Linked DNA regions of Homo sapiens: all the other regions are linked to region 5. Evidence: promoter capture Hi-C in 16 types of primary human blood cells and fetal thymus (Javierre and others, 2016). All regions are on one chromosome and are shown on one strand. Each heading gives the region's core, a stretch centred on a gene start or on the middle of the fragment in contact. The rest is flanking DNA. Distances are from core to core; before and after follow the strand shown.

The links. Contacts are between HindIII fragments. The CHiCAGO score rates a contact against its expected background, and 5 or more counts as called.
Region 1: a fragment that was not itself captured here is called in contact with the fragment with the promoter of CDKAL1 in region 5 in 2 of 17 cell types (M0 macrophages and non-activated CD4 T cells); the score reaches 8.5 in M0 macrophages.
Region 2: a contact is called between a fragment that was not itself captured here and the fragment with the promoter of CDKAL1 in region 5, in 1 of 17 cell types (endothelial precursors). The highest score is 6.8, in endothelial precursors.
Region 3: the fragment with the promoter of TDP2 here is called in contact with the fragment with the promoter of CDKAL1 in region 5 in 1 of 17 cell types (fetal thymus); the score reaches 6.6 in fetal thymus.
Region 4: a fragment that was not itself captured here is called in contact with the fragment with the promoter of CDKAL1 in region 5 in 1 of 17 cell types (fetal thymus); the score reaches 5.4 in fetal thymus.

What each region holds. Positions count from the first base shown.
Region 1 is chr6:24,406,788-24,410,845 of GRCh38, reverse strand. It overlaps MRS2 (magnesium transporter MRS2), which reads right to left. Exons shown (of 11, transcript NM_020662.4): 3 at 2,402-2,438; 4 at 1,273-1,385. Among named protein-coding and RNA genes, the nearest start is that of MRS2, 5.9 kb to the right of the region's middle. The HindIII fragment of the contact is 1,787 bases long and covers 1,783-3,569 here.
Region 2 is chr6:24,268,638-24,272,958 of GRCh38, reverse strand. The region is part of intron 7 of DCDC2 (doublecortin domain containing 2); the gene reads left to right. Among named protein-coding and RNA genes, the nearest start is that of KAAG1, 86 kb to the left of the region's middle. The HindIII fragment of the contact is 285 bases long and covers 2,632-2,916 here.
Region 3 is chr6:24,664,648-24,668,680 of GRCh38, reverse strand. It overlaps TDP2 (tyrosyl-DNA phosphodiesterase 2), which reads left to right and starts at 1,782. Exons shown (of 7, transcript NM_016614.3): 1 at 1,782-1,983; 2 at 2,070-2,155. The coding sequence starts at 1,819. ACOT13 (acyl-CoA thioesterase 13) reads right to left here and starts at 1,604. Exons shown (of 3, transcript NM_018473.4): 1 at 1,337-1,604. The coding sequence starts at 1,417. RefSeq lists enhancers at 1,566-1,860, 1,392-2,063, 2,064-2,736. The HindIII fragment of the contact is 8,130 bases long and covers 1-2,874 here.
Region 4 is chr6:24,360,087-24,364,102 of GRCh38, reverse strand. It overlaps a transcript of DCDC2 not described here. Among named protein-coding and RNA genes, the nearest start is that of DCDC2, 4.0 kb to the right of the region's middle. RefSeq lists enhancers at 3,808-3,897, 3,731-4,016. The HindIII fragment of the contact is 4,058 bases long and covers 1-3,681 here.
Region 5 is chr6:20,533,161-20,537,166 of GRCh38, reverse strand. CDKAL1 (CDKAL1 threonylcarbamoyladenosine tRNA methylthiotransferase) reads right to left here and starts at 2,710. Exons shown (of 16, transcript NM_017774.3): 1 at 2,593-2,710; 2 at 1,773-1,816. RefSeq lists enhancers at 2,512-2,591, 2,622-2,781. The HindIII fragment of the contact is 2,844 bases long and covers 48-2,891 here.

The DNA of each region.
Region 1 (4,058 bases), core at 1,427-3,926, 3.9 Mb before region 5:
TTAGATTACACAATTATCATTCTGCTGAATTTGCTTTTTCACATACCTGTCTGTCTCTCCATGAAAGAGACACTGTTTTGAAGAATGCTAGCTACTGATTCCAAGAGTAGAGAATATTTCTGAAGAAAATCACATGGGAGAAGACTGCTTCATTTTTGATAAAGTATTTTTTATTTACTTATTTATTTTTAGAGATGGGATCTTGCTATGTTGCTTAGGCTGGTCACAAACTCCTGGTCTCTGGTGACCCTCCCACTTCAGCCTCCTGAGTAGCTGGGACTAAAGGCACATGCTACCAATACTGGCCCATTTTTTATTATTTTGATTAGTTCTAGAAAAATGAACAAAAATCTGCCATCAAAGACTCTTTGAAGAAAGTCTCATACCCACTACAGGGCCAATACCATTCATCTATTTTTGAACCTAAACATTAGCCCACCAAAATAACTGAAACCCACATTAACTCTGAATCACTAAAGAAAGTCAAATTATTATTTGGCATGCTCTGAATAGGTAAGGGAAAATACAATATATTTCAGAAAGTTTTCCATTAAAAAAATTTAAACTGGCCAGGCACGGTGGCTCATGCCTGTAATCCCAGCACTTTGGGAGGCAGAGGCAGGTGGATCACCTGAGGTCGGGAGTTTCAGAGCAGCCTGACCAACATGGAGAAACCCCATGTCTACTAAAAATACAAAATTAGCTGGGTTTGGTGGCTTATGCCTGTAATCCCAGCTACTCAGAAGGCTGAGGCAGGAGAATTGCTTGAACCTGGGAGGTGGAGGTTGCAGTGAGCCAAGATCGTGCCAGCCTGGGCAACAAGAGCAAAACTCCATCTCAAAAAAAAAATTAAGGCTATAAAATTTAATGTCTATTCCTGTGCTATTTAGAAAGCCAGAATACATTTTTGGTAGCTCAGGTTATACTATAATTACATGTAACTGTACACAATTGGATATATATCTATTATAAATCAGGATTGTCTTATAGTTTCCAGAACTAGAGAGTAAATCCCAACAGTGAGAATGAACACCACAGTCAGAGCTTTTCCAACTTAAAACACAGCAGTGTTATGCCTATTGAACATGTGCATATAATCCATATAAAATGAGTTCTACTCATAATAGCATATTAAGCTATAAAACATCCTATGTTTCAGGTAGCTATTTCTATTCCAAAATTACTTTTAACCTAGATACTAATCAAGATAGTTAGAAGGTAACTTTTATAAGATTGTATTGGAGAAACATAGATGAAAATAAAATATTTTACCTCCATTCTCATGATAATCCTATTGTTTCTGACTGTGATACTCATTACATGCTGAAATCTCAAATCTCTGGCTTGAAGACCTAACTCTTGGTATAATTCAGTTTTCTTCCTTTCTATAAAAGAAATAAACAGAGAGGGCTAAACCAAATACATTAAATGGCTTAGATTTTTCCATCAGAGCAGTCCTCCCACCACCATCAAGACAATTTTTGGTTACTACCAGAAACAAAAACTAAAATTAAGTCTTTTAATATCCATTTTTACCTAGAAAACATACTCGGGCTAAATAGAGTCAAACTAATGATTTTCTTATCTATACCTCATAACTTTCTCACTACTTAGAAGACCCTTGAGACTAATACAGAAACCACAACTATGCATCATTAGAACCTATAAATGTCCAGCTCTAGAGACAGGTTATCTCTCTTAAATATAAACTGTACACAACTATATTTTCTATTTTTACTACAACATCATCTTCAGTATTTTATATATGTGAACAGATAAGCTTGATTTTCTTTGTTCTTAGACTAATACAAAAATGAGAAAAGCTGAATTTATTACCTGAGACTGATTCATTCTCAAGGGAGATGTGAAACTCACATCTGAAGTCACACTGTAAAGTAATGCCTAGTCTCACTTTTTAAAGTAGCTGTCCACAGAGAGCCATCAGCAGCAGAGTTCCATGTGGCTGCCATGCAGTGACATGGCCCTGTTCATCTTTTGTCACCCACTGCAATGTCAGTGGTATTATGTGACTCTGCCTTAAACATGCTTCAGGAGAATGAATGAGGGCAGTGAAAGGGACGCCAACAAGAGAGACAAAAGAGAAAAAGAGTGTGTCTCTGGGCTCCAGTTCTACACCAGCCTCTGCTCTCCCAAATATTCCTTCAATAGCCTGTTAGAGCAAAAAGTGGCTCCTGCTAGAAGAAAACAATTCTGGGAGAATACACACAGTCTGAGTATTGCCAGCTCCAATTAAGACTGATGGACAAATGCTGAAGAAAGATCTCTTTCAACACACCTGTATATGCAAAGAATATTTTACTCAAAATACTACAATTTCTTGATTTCTATCAGATTCACTCATTAAATGTTTAAAAAATGATTTAGAATGCTAATCACTCACCAAAAGAAGTAACGTTTCCCTGTTTGTCAAATTTTGTCTGAAAATAGAGAATAAAACAAATTATGATTTTCTTTCAAATTAGAATGCTACTTATGGTATTGCTAATTTAGTTAAGAATTTATGGTATTGTAAGTAATATCCCCAAAATGTTGAAATGCAAATATAAACCATTACTGACCTTCTTTAGATTAAATCCAGTTATGAGTTAAGGGTTTTTTTAAAATCCTTTTTTCCTTTGATAGGAAAAATCAGACCTGGGTTTAACTTTCTATCTTGGTTCCTCTAGAAAGTTGATAAAGGAGTATCAGTTGTGTTGTTACTAGGTAACAATCCTTATGGTAAAAATGACCATTGACTGGTAGACTGCACTGGACTGGGAAGACGAACAAATTACAGTTATCAGGTGAAAAGCAATAGCTCTCTTTGCCCTTTCCTGATTGTGGTGGCTCTTGTGGCCATGTTCCCAGCCAGAATCCTGGACACTGTGCCCCTGCGATGGTTACAAGGGATACTGTCACTACGGGGCATGGGGATTCGAGCCAAGATGAATCTCACATCCACCTTTGAGAATCTTATCTCCTTGTCACTGAGCGATCACTCAGAGGACCAGAGAAGCCCCTGGATGGCTGCAAAGACTTCTTTTGAAGAGGAAACACCTAACACTACCCTGTTGTTTCTCCTGTCCCTTATCCTTCTGAGTAGACTGGGACCAAGTATGGCCCGCCTTGTGAATCTAAATGTCTACATGAGGCCAAAGTCTCTTTGGTGGGTGTTGCAGAATCAATAAAGATTTACAGAACCCCTTCTGATAGTTTGAAGAGAGGATTTGATACAGAAAATGCACCTATTTCCTGCAAAGTAGGGGACTATCTTTCAGTGATGTTTATCCACAGTCAAGTTTGAAGCTGTGAAACATTTAATGAATCACTATGTGCTGAGCTGTACTACTTACTACGACAGACACATTTCAGAAAGACACTCCAACATACAGGTTTAAGTACAATATAGGTCTTGGGTTACTACCATGGAAATATACATGCTGTGTTAATCACACAATAAAAACTCACAATATATATATTTTATCTTGCTTCTCATCAGCAAAAATAAAATTAATATGAATATATAAGTTCCATAGAACATTAAAGGAAAATTTATATCAAAGAAAGCTTTATATTTGTGTAATAGTCTAGCTTTCAGCCTTATATTTCACAAATACATAAACCCACTGCAGAAAATTTGAAAATAAATATACGTAACATAAAACTATATTAATCACCTGAAATGACAAATTTTAGAGAAAACCATGTCAATATTTCACTGAATATCCTTCCAAACATTTTCCTAATAAAACATACTTATACATACTGCTTTGCAGTCTCCCTCCTTCCAAATTAGCAACATATGCTGAATATTTTTGCATCTCAATATTTATATGTACCCTTTTTTTCTTTAATGGAACTTAAAAAAATTTTTTAAATCATACAAATTATAAAGAAAAAAATATTTACTTTGTAACCAGCTCACTTTCTAAACTATTTCAAACAGCACAAATTAAATTTTTCTTTCTCAGATTCCATAGCTTTATGAATTTCTTAAGTGTTCTTTGCAATTATTTCACCTGCAAAGAACTAACTTTCAGTATTTCACGTTTGACTTT
Region 2 (4,321 bases), core at 1,525-4,024, 3.7 Mb before region 5:
AGGTTGATTCCATATCTTTGCTGTTGTGAATAGTGCTGTGATAAAAATACAAGTGCAGGTGTCTTTTTGGTATAATGATTTGTTTTCTTTTGATATCCAGTAATGAAATTGTTGGATAGAATGAAAATTCTATTTTCAGTCTTTGAGGAATCTGCATGCTGTTTTCCATGGAGACTGTACTAATGTACATTCCCACCCACAGTGTATTGGTATTGCCCTTTCTCTGCATCCTTGCTAACATCTGTTGTTTTTTGACTTTTTCAGAACAGCCATTCTGACTGGTGTAAGCTGATATCTCACTGTGGTTTTAATTTGCATTTCTGTGATGATTAGTGACATTGAGCATTTTTTCAAATGCTTGTTGGCCATTTTTATGTCTTCTTTTGAAAAATGTCTATTGATGTCCTTTGCCCACTTTTTAATGGGGCTGTCATTATTTTTTGTTGTTGAATTCTTTGAGTTCCTTGTAAATTCTGGAATCAATGACAGGGAAATACAGGTTTTCTATCCCTTGGTGGATCACAACTTCCCATCTCAATGGCAATGTGTACTGTGGGATATATGGGTCAGATTTTATACATCAAGTACTAGTATGATAAAAATTCTTAAGATCAGCATTTTTTCACACCTTCATGATCCACTTATTGGAATGATATATTGTGCCACAAATTTCTAGTACAGCGAGAGGTCTTAGTAATTTTCTTGAGGTTTATTGTGAATTTAAACTCTATTAATAAAAGTTAGTTTCAAAATGTGTACTTTGCTATCTACTTTAGTACTGAGAGACTGAAAAATTAAAAGTGGGCTGAATACTAGTAAGACGTATGGCTCAATTTGAGTGGAGTAAAATACTAGCCCTTTTTCGAAAAGGATTCTTTTTATATCCTGCCCTCTTAAACACTTTGTTCACTATATAGAGAGAAGCCATGAGGGAAGCATTCTTTCATAGCTGATATAGGGTTGAGACTTCTGCAGTAAATTCTTTTGGGGGTTATTTTTTCATGTAGCCCAGGGTTGAGTTTGAAGACGCTTTTTGTTTTCAAAAGGAAAAATTTGTGAGGTGTTGAATTACAGAGGTATTTTCAAAACTTTGGAAGATTTCATTCCGGAAATTCATTTTAAATAGGTATTTTGATACTCAGATCACATTTTCCATACAAGCGCCCCATAAAATTCTATGTAAGCCATAATTCATCTTAATTATTGCATTGTGCTGCCGATGCTGTGTAGGTTGCCCACTGTGTACAATGGTGTTTCCAGTGGGAAAACAAATGAGGAGCTCCACTTTAGAATGCCAAGAACTCATGTTACCCTGCTGTCGTAGGATGCAGAACTGCCCTCTGTTGAATTACTGGTGTAGGCCAGAGCCTCCAGGTCAGGGATCCATCTGGGTTTGGGTCTGAGAGGAATGCAGAGCTGGAGGAGCCAGACCTGGAGTTACTCGGGTGGGGACACTGAGGTGTGGGCGGAGGTTCTTCTATTAGCGTGATCCTCTGCAGGAGGATTAGTTTGGGATTGTCACATCTTTATTTCTTCCCCAGCTCCAGAGTTTGGCTTGCCTGCCTCCCTTTTCATAGATGCTACCCATTACTTCTAAGCAGGGCCTCTTTGCTTCTTGCCTTACCAGGGGCTCTGACAAGTTTCACAGCCTTTTCTTAATTCTGCTGCCTGCAAGGTCAGGTTGAACCTTTCTCTTTTTTTCTTTTTTTTCTTTCTTTCTCTCTCTCTCTCTCTTTTTTTTTTTTTTTTTTGAGGGAGTGTCTCACTCTGTCACCCAGGCTGGAGTACAGTGGCACCATCTTGGCTCACTGCAGCCTTGACCTCCTGGGCTCAAGTGATCCTCCCACGTAGCTGGGACTACAGGCAGGTGCCACCACACAAGGCTAATTTTTGTATTTTTATAGAGACGGGGTTTCACCATGTTGCCCAGGCTGGTCTCAAACTCCTAAGCTCAAGTGATCTGCCTGCCTTGGCCTCCCAATGTGCTGGGATTACAGGTGTAAGCCACTGTGCCCTGCCAGGTCTGAACCTTTCTGTAGCTTACTACAGATAAAATATGCATCCGCCCCAGTGGTGAGTTTCTGGCATACCAAAGACTGAAGCATGATTTATCTGCTTTTCTGAAAGAAGCTGAAATTGGGTCACTCTGAGCATTTCATCCTGGAATCTGAGGAAGGGCCACATGGGGGCTTGGTTAGGGAGGTGTCTGATGTCATGAATGTTGGTGAGATGCCTATCATAGAGGGTGACAGGGTGGAGGGAGGAGGAAGATGTAGCCATAGGGTTTATTACCCTTTCTCCCTCTTCAACTCCCTGTTTTCCTTGTCAGGCCTGGGGTGATATAAAACCTGGAAAGGGCCCGGTCCTTTAGAATATCAGCAGATCCTGGACCATAGGTCACATGTAAAGGACACAGATAAATGTTCAGAGCATTCCGCACAGAGTAGTCAGCACAGGGTCAGTATTTGTTGATATATATGTGTGTGTGTGCATGTAGGTCAATTATACCTATATTATGGTGACAATTGAAATTAAAGGCTGCAAACTGTAAGCATTGAGTAATGGCACACTCCTGATACCCATGCTTTAGAACATCTTGATGGTGCATTCTAATCTGATATTTTGTAAGCTTCATTTACAAATACTTAGAATGGATAAACAGCATTTTCCTAGCTTAGTGAATGAGGGGGAAAAGAGGAGAAACCAGTTTGCCCAGAGTCAAAGATCTATCAATGGTTAGTGATTTCTGGAAATTGCCAGACTGACACATAGCTGCTGGTTAAGAGGTGGATGTGCCTGTGTGACTGTTTGAAAGGGGAGGTGGAGGGACAAGTGAGGGAAGCTCTCGTGTGTGTGTTTTGACCTGTCTTCCTTCAGTGATAAAAATGTTGATGTATCACAGCAGACCCTGAAGCTTAGCTGGGAGATTTTGGGGAGTTCCTGTTTGTTTCTTCTTCTACTCTCCACTATTTCATATTAACTTTTTAAATGGGGATGATTGATTTTCATCCCTTCTATTTTCTAGGTGGTCGGAGTTAGTCATTACTAACAAGCCGTTTTTCTCTTTAGCAGTCTGATGTAATAATGGGTCTTCTCTATTTTGACACATCTTAGCTGGGGACTGCCTTCAGCATTTAGACCCTCTTTTCTAGGGTTTAGGGACCTTGAAGAAGGTAGATATTTTGGGGGCTGACCTCTAGTTTCTGTATCAAATGATCAAATCCCCTTTTTTAAAACAGTTACTTAAACATTCTAGGACTTAAGCTCTGCAACCCAAGCCTTTCTCTGTGTCTGAATTTCCTTCCCCATGTTTCATGACTTTCTAGACTTAGGAACCCCATCCCCTTTCCTAGGTCACTACTTTCATTTTTCAGTGAACATTTATTGAGTCCCTACCATGTACTCCACCCCTTGCTAATCACCAGAGTATTTCATTTTCTCTTCTTTGTTCTAATTGCTCAGTACTTACACATTTTCTTCCAATAGTCATAATTATATCTTTATCAATAAATTTTCCTTGGTTAAGTAGATGCAATTTACCTTTTCCCTTTCAATGACCAGACTTTATTCACTATCCCTAAATGCCAAATTATGTTGCAAGCATTGACATTTTTTCCTTCTGGGTATTGAGTCATTTCTTAGACCTCTGTATTAATTTTGTCCTTATAGAAAGTACCAGCACACTACTAAAGAACATAGGCCATTTCTACTTAAATGTATTTAGTCCAATGTCTGGGACAATTACTAAATACTGCTTGGCACTATGAGACAGGGAAGGAGTATTTCCTCACTTATGTGATACCCTGGGACTCCTTTGTAGTCTGTGGCCTATTTTGTATATGAACTCTATTTTTATTCTTCTCTATTGCCCTAGTTATTTTCAAAATAAGATATAACCTTTATTGCAAATCACCATGCAGTGTGCTATCACAGTGGAGATAAAGATAAAATATCTGTAAAATACCTTTGAGCTTTGTAGGTTTAAAGCTACCCATTTATTCTTATTTTATACAATTGGATGATAATACCAAATTGTTTCTTTGAAACTGGGCAAGATTTTATTTCCTTTAAAATTACATAATAAAGTGGCCTGGCACAGTGGCTCATGCCTGTAATCCCAGCACTTTGGGAGGCCGAGATGGGTGGATCACCTGAGGTCGGGGGTTCAAGACCAGCCTGGCCAGCATGGTGAAACCCTGTCTCTACTAAAAATACAAAAATTAGCCGGGCATAGTGTCGCATGCCTGTAGTCTCAGCTACTTGGGAGGCTAAGGCATGAGAATTGCTTGAACCCAGGAGGCAGGGGTTGCAGTGAGCTGAG
Region 3 (4,033 bases), core at 533-3,032, 4.1 Mb before region 5:
GGTTGCTTTTCACAGCCAATTGTGGGTCACCACTTCATTTACATGAGATGAGTACCAAGTGGCCAATAGGAGACTTCAATGGGGTATTAGGGCCCCTGAGCTGCTGCTCCACACCCCAAACACAGGAGTGTCCTTTCATTTTCAGTAAATCCCTGCTTTTGGCGGGGCATGGTGGCTCATGCCTGTAATCCCAGCACTTCGGGAGGCCAAGGCAGGTGGATCACCTGAGGTCAGCAGTTTGAGACCAGCCTGACCAACATGATGAAACCCTGTCTCTAATAAAAATAAAGAATTAGCCAGGCTTGGTGGCGCATGCCTGTAATCATCCCAGCTACTTGGAAGGCTGAGGCATGAGAATCACTTGAACCCAGGAGGCGGAGGTTGCAGTGAGCCGAGATCGTGTCACTGCACTCCCGCATGGGCAACAGAGCAAGACTCCATCTCAAAACAACAACAACAACAAACACCTTCAAGGTCTGGCGTGGCGGCTCACACCAGTAATCCCAGCACTTTGGGAGGCGGAGGCAGGCGTTTCACCTGAGGTCGGGAGTTCGAGAGCAGCCTGACCAACATGGAGAAACCCTGTCTCTACTAAAAGTACAATATTAGCTGGGCATGGTGGCGCATGCCTGTAATCCCAGCCACTCGGGAGGCTGAGTGAGGCAGGAGAATTGTTTGAACCAGGGAGGTGGAGGTTGCAGTGAGCCGAGATCGCGCCATTGCACTCCAGCCTAGGCAACAAGGGCGAAACCTCATCCTAAAAAAACAAAAACAAACAAACACCTTCGGGCTTTGTGAGTGCTGGTCTCAGAAAAGCACTCAGTCTTCCTCCAAGGGCTAACTTACTTCTTCAGGAGTTGGGTGCCTTTGAGAAATTTCCCAAACCACTACAGAGGAACAACTTCTCCCTTCGTTCACCACTCTACCAAGCACTTGGCTTTTGTACCTTATTGCAATTATTTATCTTCTAATCTTCTAGAGCCTAGAGAATTAGACTGTAATGTGCCTTAAATGCAGAGGTTTCTCTTACTCTTCTCTGGAGCAATGCAGACGTTTGTTGGTTGAAGGATCAAACTCCAAAGTCCCTCCCAGCCTTGGAACTGTCTCCACGAGTCATAACCATACTTATCTATGTTTAGATAGAGAACTTACGCGTTCGACCCAGCATATTTAGGGGCTCCATTAAAGTAATAATCATTATTACTAAGGTGAATTTACAGGCGTACTAGAACACAACCTAACAAGAGATAATTATTCAAAGCTCACAACGGCACCAAGCACGGTGCTTTCTTTTCCTTCATTAGAAGCCACGGCTTCTCCCCTACCTTTCCCATACCTTTCCCAAAACTCTCTCAAAATTGCGAGCCTTGGTCATGGCCTTTATCACCTCCCGCAGAGACTGAGTCATGCTGGTCATCGTGGACGGTTTTCCAGCCTTTGGGCTTTGCGCAAGAACGAACTTCGGAAGAGCTGGAAAGTCCAGAAGTTAGTGAAAGAAGGAGGACACAAAGGGCGAAGAGCCCGCACCCTTCTCCGCCCCTAGGAGCGCAAGAGGCCGGGAGTCAGGCGAGCTGGCAGCCCCGGTGGTCCGCGATTTGCTCACTGACTTTCCTCGCACCCTTGTGACGAAGCGCGCATGCGCGCTTCGCACCCACCGCCCCGGCGGCTCCCTTGCGGCGCAGCTGCACCAGTTTTCCGAGAGCAGCGCATTTCCCCGCCGGGCGGTTGATGCGGGAGCGCCATGACACAGGCGCCTGCGCAGAGCCGCGCGTTGGCCTCCTGTTCCGCTTAAAGGGGCGGTGCAGAGGCGGCAGGAAGATGGAGTTGGGGAGTTGCCTGGAGGGCGGGAGGGAGGCGGCGGAGGAAGAGGGCGAGCCTGAGGTGAAAAAGCGGCGACTTCTGTGTGTGGAGTTTGCCTCGGTCGCAAGCTGCGATGCCGCAGTGGCTCAGTGCTTCCTGGCCGAGAACGACTGGGAGATGGAAGTACGCTTTCGCTGTCCTCGCTTCCGGCTCCATTACCTAGGTCGGTGGAGCGCACAAACCTCATCCCTTGTGCCTTTGTTTTTCAGAGGGCTCTGAACTCCTACTTCGAGCCTCCGGTGGAGGAGAGCGCCTTGGAACGCCGACCTGAAACCATCTCTGAGCCCAAGACCTAGTAAGTGATGAGGGGAGCGGGAGCCAGTCCGCACGGAGGCAGTTTGATACCAGGTAGCCCTGCGCGTCCTGGGACCTGCCGTGGAGCTGGGCGGACGATGCTGAGGCAGATCTCCAAGCTGCGTAGCCAGAGGAGCAGGGCTTGCGTTGCTGCTGCTGCGCGGAGTTGCGCCCCAGCAGCGGATCTAACACTGCACCAGACTGTCGCTTCGAACGTGATTTGGGGTCCAGGGAGGAAAAGATGGAAATGTAATGTTTAACTCAAATGAAAGGAAATAAGTAAGCGAGAGGTTTGAAACAAATGAACGAAGGCTAAACCTTCTATCGAAAAATGGCAACTTGGAAGTCTCCTTGCTTCCTGTATTGTTTATTTATTCTAGGCCCTAGGCTGACCGGCCAGAATAACAGGTTTGTTGTTGTTGTTATTTTTTTTTAATGCACACCTACTCCTGTTATTTCAGTGCCCCTCTCCAGTTCCTGCACTTAAAAAGTGTAGCTGCCTTACAAGGCCCTCTACTATTTGGCTCCATAACTTAGAACCTGCCTTTCCAGGTTCCAGGCCTATCAAACTTTTACTTTTTTCCAACGGGTCATTTTCTCCTGTCTTTGAAACTTCGTAAAGATCTTTATTACCTGTGCCTGGAATTTTTTTCTTTTCCCTTCCTTGCTAATATTTGTCTTAAAGCCCCAAGCTGAGACATGATTTATCTCTAGGAAGCTTTTCCTGATGTCCTAAGTCTGGGTAAGAGTCCCCTTTTAGGTACTCTTATAGCATCCTGCATGACCCCTGTTACAATACCTTAGTCCGTATTATAATTGCTGTTCATTATTTTATGTCTCCTACTAGACTGCACATCTAGTAAGGAGTATCTGTTTTGTACATTGTTAATTTCCCAAAGTCTGACACAACATTTGACACATAATAAGCTCCCAATAAATATTTACTGAATGTATAAAATTCTCCCAGCTATATGTACAACCTGTAAAATTGACTGTTCATAGTGGAGACTTTATTTTCCCTTTGGTCTTTTCAGCTACACTGGCTTACAGATGTGATAAGATATTTTCTTTAGGTTCCTTTCTCTGTCTTGCCTCTTGTTGGGGAATTGTTTACTCACCCACAGTGATTTGTCTCTGGCTCCCGTTTTACTAACCAGAGCAAGTTGGACTAGGAGGTGTTTGCCTAGCTCAAACTGGCCAGTCAGATCCTCTCCTTGGTTTCAGAATTAGGACCAAGAGAGTCAAGTCTGAGTCTTCCTATGGAGCTGGAACTGTAACATGTTAACTTAGCACCTGTGAGGATTCATACATATCTTTTTTTGTGTACAGAGAAGCTGAGAACAGAGGTCTGCAGAGAGACAATGAAGCAGAGGGAAGTTGAAGTGTAGGATTGAGAGAAAGCCCTTAACTGCCCTTCCTTAAACATGGCTGTATTTCTGTACCAGGCTCTGTGACATGTTTGTTTCCTTATAAATTCTCCTGTTTTGGTCAAACCAACCTGAGTTAATGTCTGTTGGTTGCAACAGACTATATTGTAACCAATAAATAGTAACAAAATAAGTGGATTTCCTGTAATAGGCCCTCAGAAAAGATGCGGATCAAGCTGATCAATGGTGTCATGGCTATTAGGATTCTCTTACCCCGGAATGGTAAATTGGCAAAAACAAGCAAAGGTGTTGATTAGGCTGTGGTCTCTTGTCTCTCAGAACTCAGGTCAAGTATGAATGAGAGTGAGGTTTTAAAGTTTAGTTTGCTCAAGAGAGAAAAATGGGGAAGGGGCAAACTTCAGCGTGTTTCTAAGGCCTGTGACCTGATTAGATTTTTGATGTTGGCTTTAGCAAAAATGAAAGGGAAAAAAAAATTGATTGGAAGATTTTAT
Region 4 (4,016 bases), core at 403-2,902, 3.8 Mb before region 5:
AAATAGGAATGGGGGGATAAGGGGCTGTAAAGTACATCCAAAGGGATTTTAAAGGAAGCGATGGTACAAGTCTTCACTTTGGAGAGCCATAGGAAGATTTGCGTGAGAAGAGATGGAAACTAAAGCAACAAGAGTAGTATATTTATGGCTTTGTCATCAAAGTTGATGATATTGGATTTCACTGTAAGAGAAATGATAAGGATTTGAAGAATTTTAAGCTGGAAAGTGAAATGGATAGATCTGTGTTTTCAGCGACCTTTCAGGATGACTGTTCTGTGGAGAATGGATAATAGGGAAGCAAACTGGAGACAGGGTTACCTCTTAGGGGATGATGATGCCTTGAATTCAAAATGTGGAAATGGGTTTGGAGATAAGTGGATGGATTTAAAAAATATTTGAGAGATAGAATTGATAGAACTTGGTGATTAGTTGAAGAGCCCTTATAAACCTAGGGTGCAATGTGGTCTGGTTTTAGCACAGTATTACATCAAAATAAATATTGCTTAAGCAGAAATATATAATTGAAAGCATTTCAGAGATCTAGGCTCTTGAGGAAACAGCAAATGCCTTGTTGGTATTATTATTTTTCTTTTTGATTTTTTGAGACAGGGTCTTATTCTGTTACCCAGGCTGCAGTGTAACGGCATGAGCATGGCTCACTGCAGCCTCAACTTCCCAGGCTCTGATGATTCTCCCACCTCAGTCTCCTGAGTAGCTGGGACTACAGGAGCATGCCACTATGCCCTGATAATTTTTTTAGTTTTTTGTTTTTTTAGAGATGGGGTTTTGCCATGTTGGCCAGGCTGGTCTCAAACTGCTGGGCTCAAGCAATCCACCTGCCTCAGCATCTCAAAGTGCTGGGATTACAGGCTTGAGCCACCGTGCCCTGCTGGTGGTATTATTTTTAATGCACAGCAACACTTCTTTAAGAATCTTCTTTGGCCATCTCTCTCATTCTCAATGCCTTTCATATACTTAGGAAGAAGCTAAAATACAAAAACTCTCCCCTCCTTTCCTATGTGTGTTCTCAAACATTCCCTTGCATCCATCTGAAGCTCCTCATTCCTTAGCATTCCGCTCCTCATTCTACCTCAGCTCTTCGTGATCAGGGTTTATCTAACCTTTCTGGCTTCTTAAAGCCTTCTCACTTTGCTCAGTGTTCGGACTTTGCACAAGAGAGAAGAGCTCCAAAACCAATTCAGCAAGCATCTGGAGCAGGGAGAGAGATTGCAAATATCTGACTGTTTTTGTTGTTCCTCTGCCACAGTTAAATGTGTTCTGTGAAGAAGAGAAATGTATATGTTCTAGCTTTGAGCAAATGAGTAGATGAGGGTCCATTTGTGGAGACAGGAAACATAGGAAAAGTGATTTTGAGGAAAACTTGAGATCCCGTGAACGTTTCGAGTCTAGGCTGCCTTTTAGATGGTCTAGAGAAGCTGTCAGGAGAATTGTGTGCCTGGAACTGCCTTGTTCTGGCGTGTGAGGCAACTGTTAAATTCTCAGGAATTGTAAACATGGGCATTGTTAAAAAGTAATTTTATAAATATACGATTAAATAAAAAATAATTGTATAAATATACAATTAAATAAAAAATAATTGTATAAATATACAATTAAATAAAAAAATTGTATAAATATACAATTAAATAAAAAATAATTGTATAAATATACAATTAAATAAAAAATAATTGTATAAATATACAATTAAATAAAAAATAATTGTATAAACATACAATTAAATAAAAAATAATTGTATCAACATACAATTAAATAAAAAATAATTGTATCAACATACAATTAAATAAAAAATAATTGTATAAACATACAATTAAATAAAAAATAATTGTATAAATATACAATTAAATAAAAATTGTATAAATATGCAATTAAATAAAAAATAATTGTATAAATATACAATTAAATAAATTACATTGAAAACAAAGATAATAAATACTCAAAACTCATCTCCATCTACATTTTACTACTATCTGTGCTCTTAAAGTTACACAAGTCTGCTGTGCCTGCATGGTGGAAATACCATACAATGACTTGCTACTGCACATTTCATGGCTTCAGTGATGTTAGACTGGCATCTGGAAATTGGCCATATTTGGAGTAAACTACAGAGATTGGCAAATGCTATGAATTAAGGCCTTCTCTTCCCTCCTAAAAGCCAGCAGTTAAACACTTATCACCACATCATATCCAAGAGACATCTGGATAAATGAATCTAAGCTCAGGAGACACATCCGGGTTGGAGATACCGCAGTGGGAGGCATAGACTTGATGCGGGCAGCTTCATGGGCTGGCGTCAGGGTCCCCACATCAAGAAGGACCCCATGATTGGTTTAATGCTCTGCTGTTGCTAACATAAAATTCTTAATTTTTGAATAAGAGGCCACATTTTCATTTTACACTGGGCTAATATAGATGATAGGGAATTTTAGGTTGTTTGGGGAGGGGGCTACTTAATTGATTGCCTTCCATTTCCACATAACAAGTATTCTGTCTTACTCACCTATGTGGTAGCACATTTTCACAGGTATTTTCCCCATCCATCCCTCAACCTGTGCATTCTCCACAAGCAGCTCACAAAATTTCCCTTGTCTATTTCCTCCCTGTATTGTTCTCTTTGGCCTTCTTTTGAAATTTGTTAACTTTTTTTTTTTTTAACTTTCATTTTAGGTTCAGGGGTACATGTGCAGATTTGTTATATAGGTAACTCGTGTCACGGAGGTTTGTTGTACAGATTATTTCATCACCCAGGTACTAAGCCTGATACTCAACAGTTATTTTTTCTGCTCCTCTCCCTCCTCCCACGCTCCACCCTCAAGTAGGCCCCAGTATCTGTTGTTCCCTTCTTTGTGTCCGTGAGTTCTCCTCATTTAACTCCTACTTATATGTGAGAACATGCGGGTATTTGGTTTTTTGTTCCTGCGTTTGAAAACTGTTAACTTTCAAAGCATTAATGTATTACATGGCTTTAATAAAAATATTTCTTCAGAACAGAAATCTCGAAGGAAAAAAAAAGTTTCTCTCCAGATTGCAATGTCCCACACATTCATCTTTCACAGTGATATGACTGGTTATGGAGCTTGTGGAATAAGACAGAACTGGGTTTGAACTCTCTCTCTCTCTTTCGTTTTCTAATCCTTAGAATGGGTTTGAATTCCTGTGTGTGTGACCTGAGGTAAATGTCTTTGATTTCTCTACCCTTCAGTTTCCTCATCTGAGGAAAGAATAATATTTACCTCTGAAGGTTATTGTGAATATTAGATAATCTACATAAAGTGCCTTACATAATGCCTGGTCCATGGTTATAGTGTTCAATTAATGGCAGTTCTTTTTATTCGTACATGATGAGTTAGGAACACCCAGTAATTTGGACATGACACATGGTAGAAAAGTCTTAGGAGGAATGAAGGAAACACTGGCAGAGATGAGCTGCAAAATTTCAACTCTTTAAACATTTTCCTGGTGCCACAATATGTATGTCCCAGACTGGACTGGACAAAGCGACTCTTTACTGGGGCTGTTACTATTCTCACAACTCCTCTCCCTGTTATTCCTCAGACAGAGCTAACAATCTACACAAATAGCACAGATGTGGGCTCTTGGACAGCCAGTCAGACATTTAGCCTTCTTGCGGCAGTGAAAAAATCCTTTCCCTGGCGTAAAGCTTGGCACAGGGTAGGCACTCAAAATTTTGTAGGTTTTCCTTTTCACCGCCGTGGCCCCAACTAGCACAGGGCCTTGCACACAGCAGGCGTCCATTTACTGAATGAGCGCATGATGAATGAGCGCATGATCATGTCACCTGTTTCTCCCTCTTCCTCCAAACCCCTGTTCTTCCGCCTCTGCCCCACGCAGCCAGCATATCCCAAGGAGCCAGGCGCAAGCCAGGCCTGGTTCACTGACTCGCTCCCCGCGCGAGGCTGCGGTTGCTATGGAAACAGCGGGAAATAACAACTCCGTTCCCCTTGGGTGAGAGAGGCCCGCAGAGGTAACAGCAGCTG
Region 5 (4,006 bases), core at 1,461-3,960:
ACTCATTCTATTCACCTGAAGAGCTTTTGAAAATTCCCAACTAAGCTTGCAGTGAGCCGAGATCACGCCACTGCACTCCAGCCTGGGCGACAGAGCGAGACTCTGTCTCAAAACAAAAACAAAAACAAAAGAAAAAAAAGAAAATTCCCAACTAAGCCCCAAGATAGCTGAATGAATCTCTGAGAATGGAGCCTGGGCATCAATATCTTTTAAAAACTTTCCAGTCATTCTCATGTGTGTACAGCCACAGTTGCAAAGCAATGTCCAGTGGTTTTCAAAGTGTAGTTTCCACATCAGCTGGAGTAGCATCATGGGGAACTTGTTAGAAATGAACATTTTTTCTTTTTCAGTTTTTTTGTAAAAACAAGGTCTCGCTTTGTTGTCCAGGCTGGTCTCAAACTCCTCCCATCTTGGCCCCTAAAGTATGGGATTACAGGCATGAGCCACCATGCCCAGCCAGAAATGAAAATTCTTGAACTCCACTCCAGACATACTAAATCAGATATTTTGAGTAAAACCTAGCAATATTTAACAGGCCCTCTAGGTGATTTTGATCTGAATTAAAGTTTGATAATCACTGTCCCAGAATTATTCTTTCATAAAAACCACCTAGAATGTATGTCAAATATACATAACCTAGACAATTCAAGGGGGAAAGCGTAGTTTTTTTTTCAACAAATGACACTGGGATAACTGGATAGCAACATGTAAAAAATAAAGTTGGAGCCCTATTTCACATTTCACATCATATACAAAAATTAACCGAAAATGGATCATAGACCTAAATTTAGGAGCTAACATTATGAAACTCTTAGAAAAAAACATAAGCACAAATCTTTATGATGTTAGAGTAGGCCCTTCTTTCTTAGCTAAGAAATGAAAAGCACAAGCAACAAAAGGAAAAACAGATTAGATGAAGAAGATACAGAAATGGGCCAGGTGCAGAGGCTCATGCCTATAATCCCAACACTGGGAAGCCAAGGTGGCAGGATCACTTCAGGCCAGGAGTACAAGGCCAGAGCCTAGGCAACACGGACCCTATCGCTACAAAAAAAAAAAAAAAAGTAAAATTTAGCCGGGCATGGTGGCATGCACCTGTAGTCCCAGCTACTTGGGAGGCTGAAGTGGGATCACTTGAGACCAGGTGGTCAAGGCTGCAGTGAGCCGTAATCGAGCCACTGCACTCTGGCCTGGGTGGCATAGGGAAGCCGTGTCTCAAAAACACACACATACAAATGGCTGATAAGCACATGAAAAGATGTCAACATCATGAGCCATCAGGGAAATGGAAATCCAAACCACAATAATACACCACTTCATACCCATTAGGATGGGTAGAATCAAAAAGACAAATAACTGTTGACAGGCATGTGGATTACATCACCCAGAGGGGAAGAAAAAGAGAACAGAGGTAGGAGAAGGTACAAGACCACGACTTGAGAGACTCCAAATTTAACTGCCAGATAAAGGAAAATCAGCTTATAATGGATTCCAAGAAGCAGCCACCAGACAAGGAAAAAAATCCATGGGCCATGGAAGGCAAATGAAAAGGGCATCTCAAAAAAGTGGACATGGTCAATGCTGGTGAATGAAAATGAAAGGTTAAGTAAAATAAATGAAAATATCTCTTCGATTTAATGCTATGTAAAGCACAATGTTTCCATAACATGATAGTGGCAAATAGCTAAAACATTAGGCTACCTCTCTGCATTTTCTAACATGCAGAAATACGCACAGCACTCAAACATAAAAGGTTTAAAATAAATCAGTACCTTAATTATCTGCAATTAGTCTAAAGTCCTCTTGAAAGATGAGTCTGGAAAATAAAAATTGATTAGGAAAAGTAAGCACCCAAAAAGTTCACAAAACCACTGTAAGGATTCTTTACTTAAAAGGAATCAGACTCCATAAAAGACTGCTTTATACAGCAGGATTAATGATGCTCCATACTACTTGTAACTTCTTACTGATTACAACAGGTGTGCTGACATCTGCCGTGACGGTGATCCAGTGTCTGGCTTTAGTAATAAATGTTGTATTCAGCACCGCAACACGTCTGCATAGTGCGAGTAACCAACCACTACAAAACAGGATTAAGTCAATAAGGTAGATAGACATCCAGATCACGTTCCATCCGAAAGATAACTGTCGTCCCGAGATTCAGAAAAAGGTTTTATGAGCAAAGAAGAACGAAAAGTGAAAAAGCAAGACACCTGCTTTTCTCAATAACTTCTGCTTAAATTCTTAACATACTGATCTGGGAAAGCTATATAACTGCGAAAGCCTTGTCACATCTACAAATTCACTAAGGTATAAAGTGGGAGAACAAATGAAGTTAAACCTGACAATAAGGAACGAGGTGCCTAAAATACTCCTAACTGGAGAGCGGCACCTGAGGCCAACGACCCTATCCTCGCTCCTGGAAGCCCCATCTGCCTCCCAATTCCCCCATCCCAGCTGGCAAATCCCCTTTTAACTGCGAAACAAATTTGCAAACAGCCCAAGAAAAACTGAAACTGGAGAAACAAGGCTTGGCCATAAAAGGAGCTGTGGCCACACTCTGCCCCACATGGACCCATCGGCCACCCTTACCCAGAAGTCGGGAAGTAAAAACCAGTCCAAAGTGAGAAAATCAACCCGCCACTCTCCGGAAGCTGCACAGACTTTAGATGGAGAGCGCCATGACACATACGTCCCGCCACGTTTATTTGCGCATGCTCAGCGACGGTGGCCCGAAGAGATCAAATTACATCATTGCTGAAAGCGCTAGTTCTGGTTTAACTTAGTTTAGGAATGACTACGCTTCAAGTTCCTTTGATTCCAAGAACTAAAATAACAACCCTGAGTCCTCGGGTTCCTAGAAATGCTTAATAGCCAACTTCTCCTAAGCTTTTATGTGTTAGACACTGTGCTAAGTACTTTGCATAAATATTATTCACTATTTATTTATTATTATTATTATTCCCAGTTTACAAAAGAGGACACTGGAAGTTTAAGGACTTAATCTAAGTTACTCTACTAGTCGTGCTGCGCTCTGGGCTGGATCCGATGCTGTCTGACTCCCAAAGAACTTGCTCTTTTCACTGCATTTTACTAGCCTCCTCAATCATTTGTGAAAAGAGGTCTCTTCTTTAATATTAAAAAAACAGGAAGGAAAGGATAAAGGTCAGTTGGTAGGTTTCACTTAATATACATCATTGAGCACCACACAAGTGTTTTTGTTTTTTGTTTTGGAAAACTTAGATGGCAGTTTAGCAGACACCTATGGAAAGAAAATACTTTTATGGAGTACGGATTCTCACCCGCTTTCTCTACATATGTTATCTCACTTTACTATTCGTTACCCAAGACACTGTATTTGACCATGTGTTTACCAGAAGAATATCTTTACTTGAAAAAGTAAAGGTAATAGGAGGCAATAGGCCATGAAGAAGGGTCAGAAATCGTGAGTTTTATGCCTGACTTAGGGTTTCATAGTGATTTGGGGCAATTACTTTGTTTTGCAAATGCCTTTCCTAGTACAATTTCATCTAATTAAAATGCCATCCATCTACTCAAGAGGCTGATGTGGGAGGATCACTTGAGCTCAGAAGTTTGAAAACAGCCTGGGCAACACAGTGAGACCCAGTCTCTAAAATAGATTTAAAAAAAAAAAAAAAAACCACCCTTTTCTCTGTTTATCCATATCCATAAAATAATCTAAACTGTGCCCTGGGGTCCACTGTTGTCTTTACCCACCTAAATTAAAATTGTGTATTTATGTTGCCCTACTTTTTTTTTTTTTTTTTTTTTTTTTTTAGATAGGGTCTTCTTCTGTCACCCAGGCTGGAGTACAGTGTTACCATCACAGCTCACTGCAACCTCTCCCTCCTAGCCTCAAGAGATTCTCATGCCTTAGCCTCCCAAGTAGCTGGGACTACAGGTGCACACCACCATACCCATCTAATTCCATCTCTTTCACTAGACCAAAAGTAGGCCCTGGGTTATCTTCTTGGTTGTAATCGCA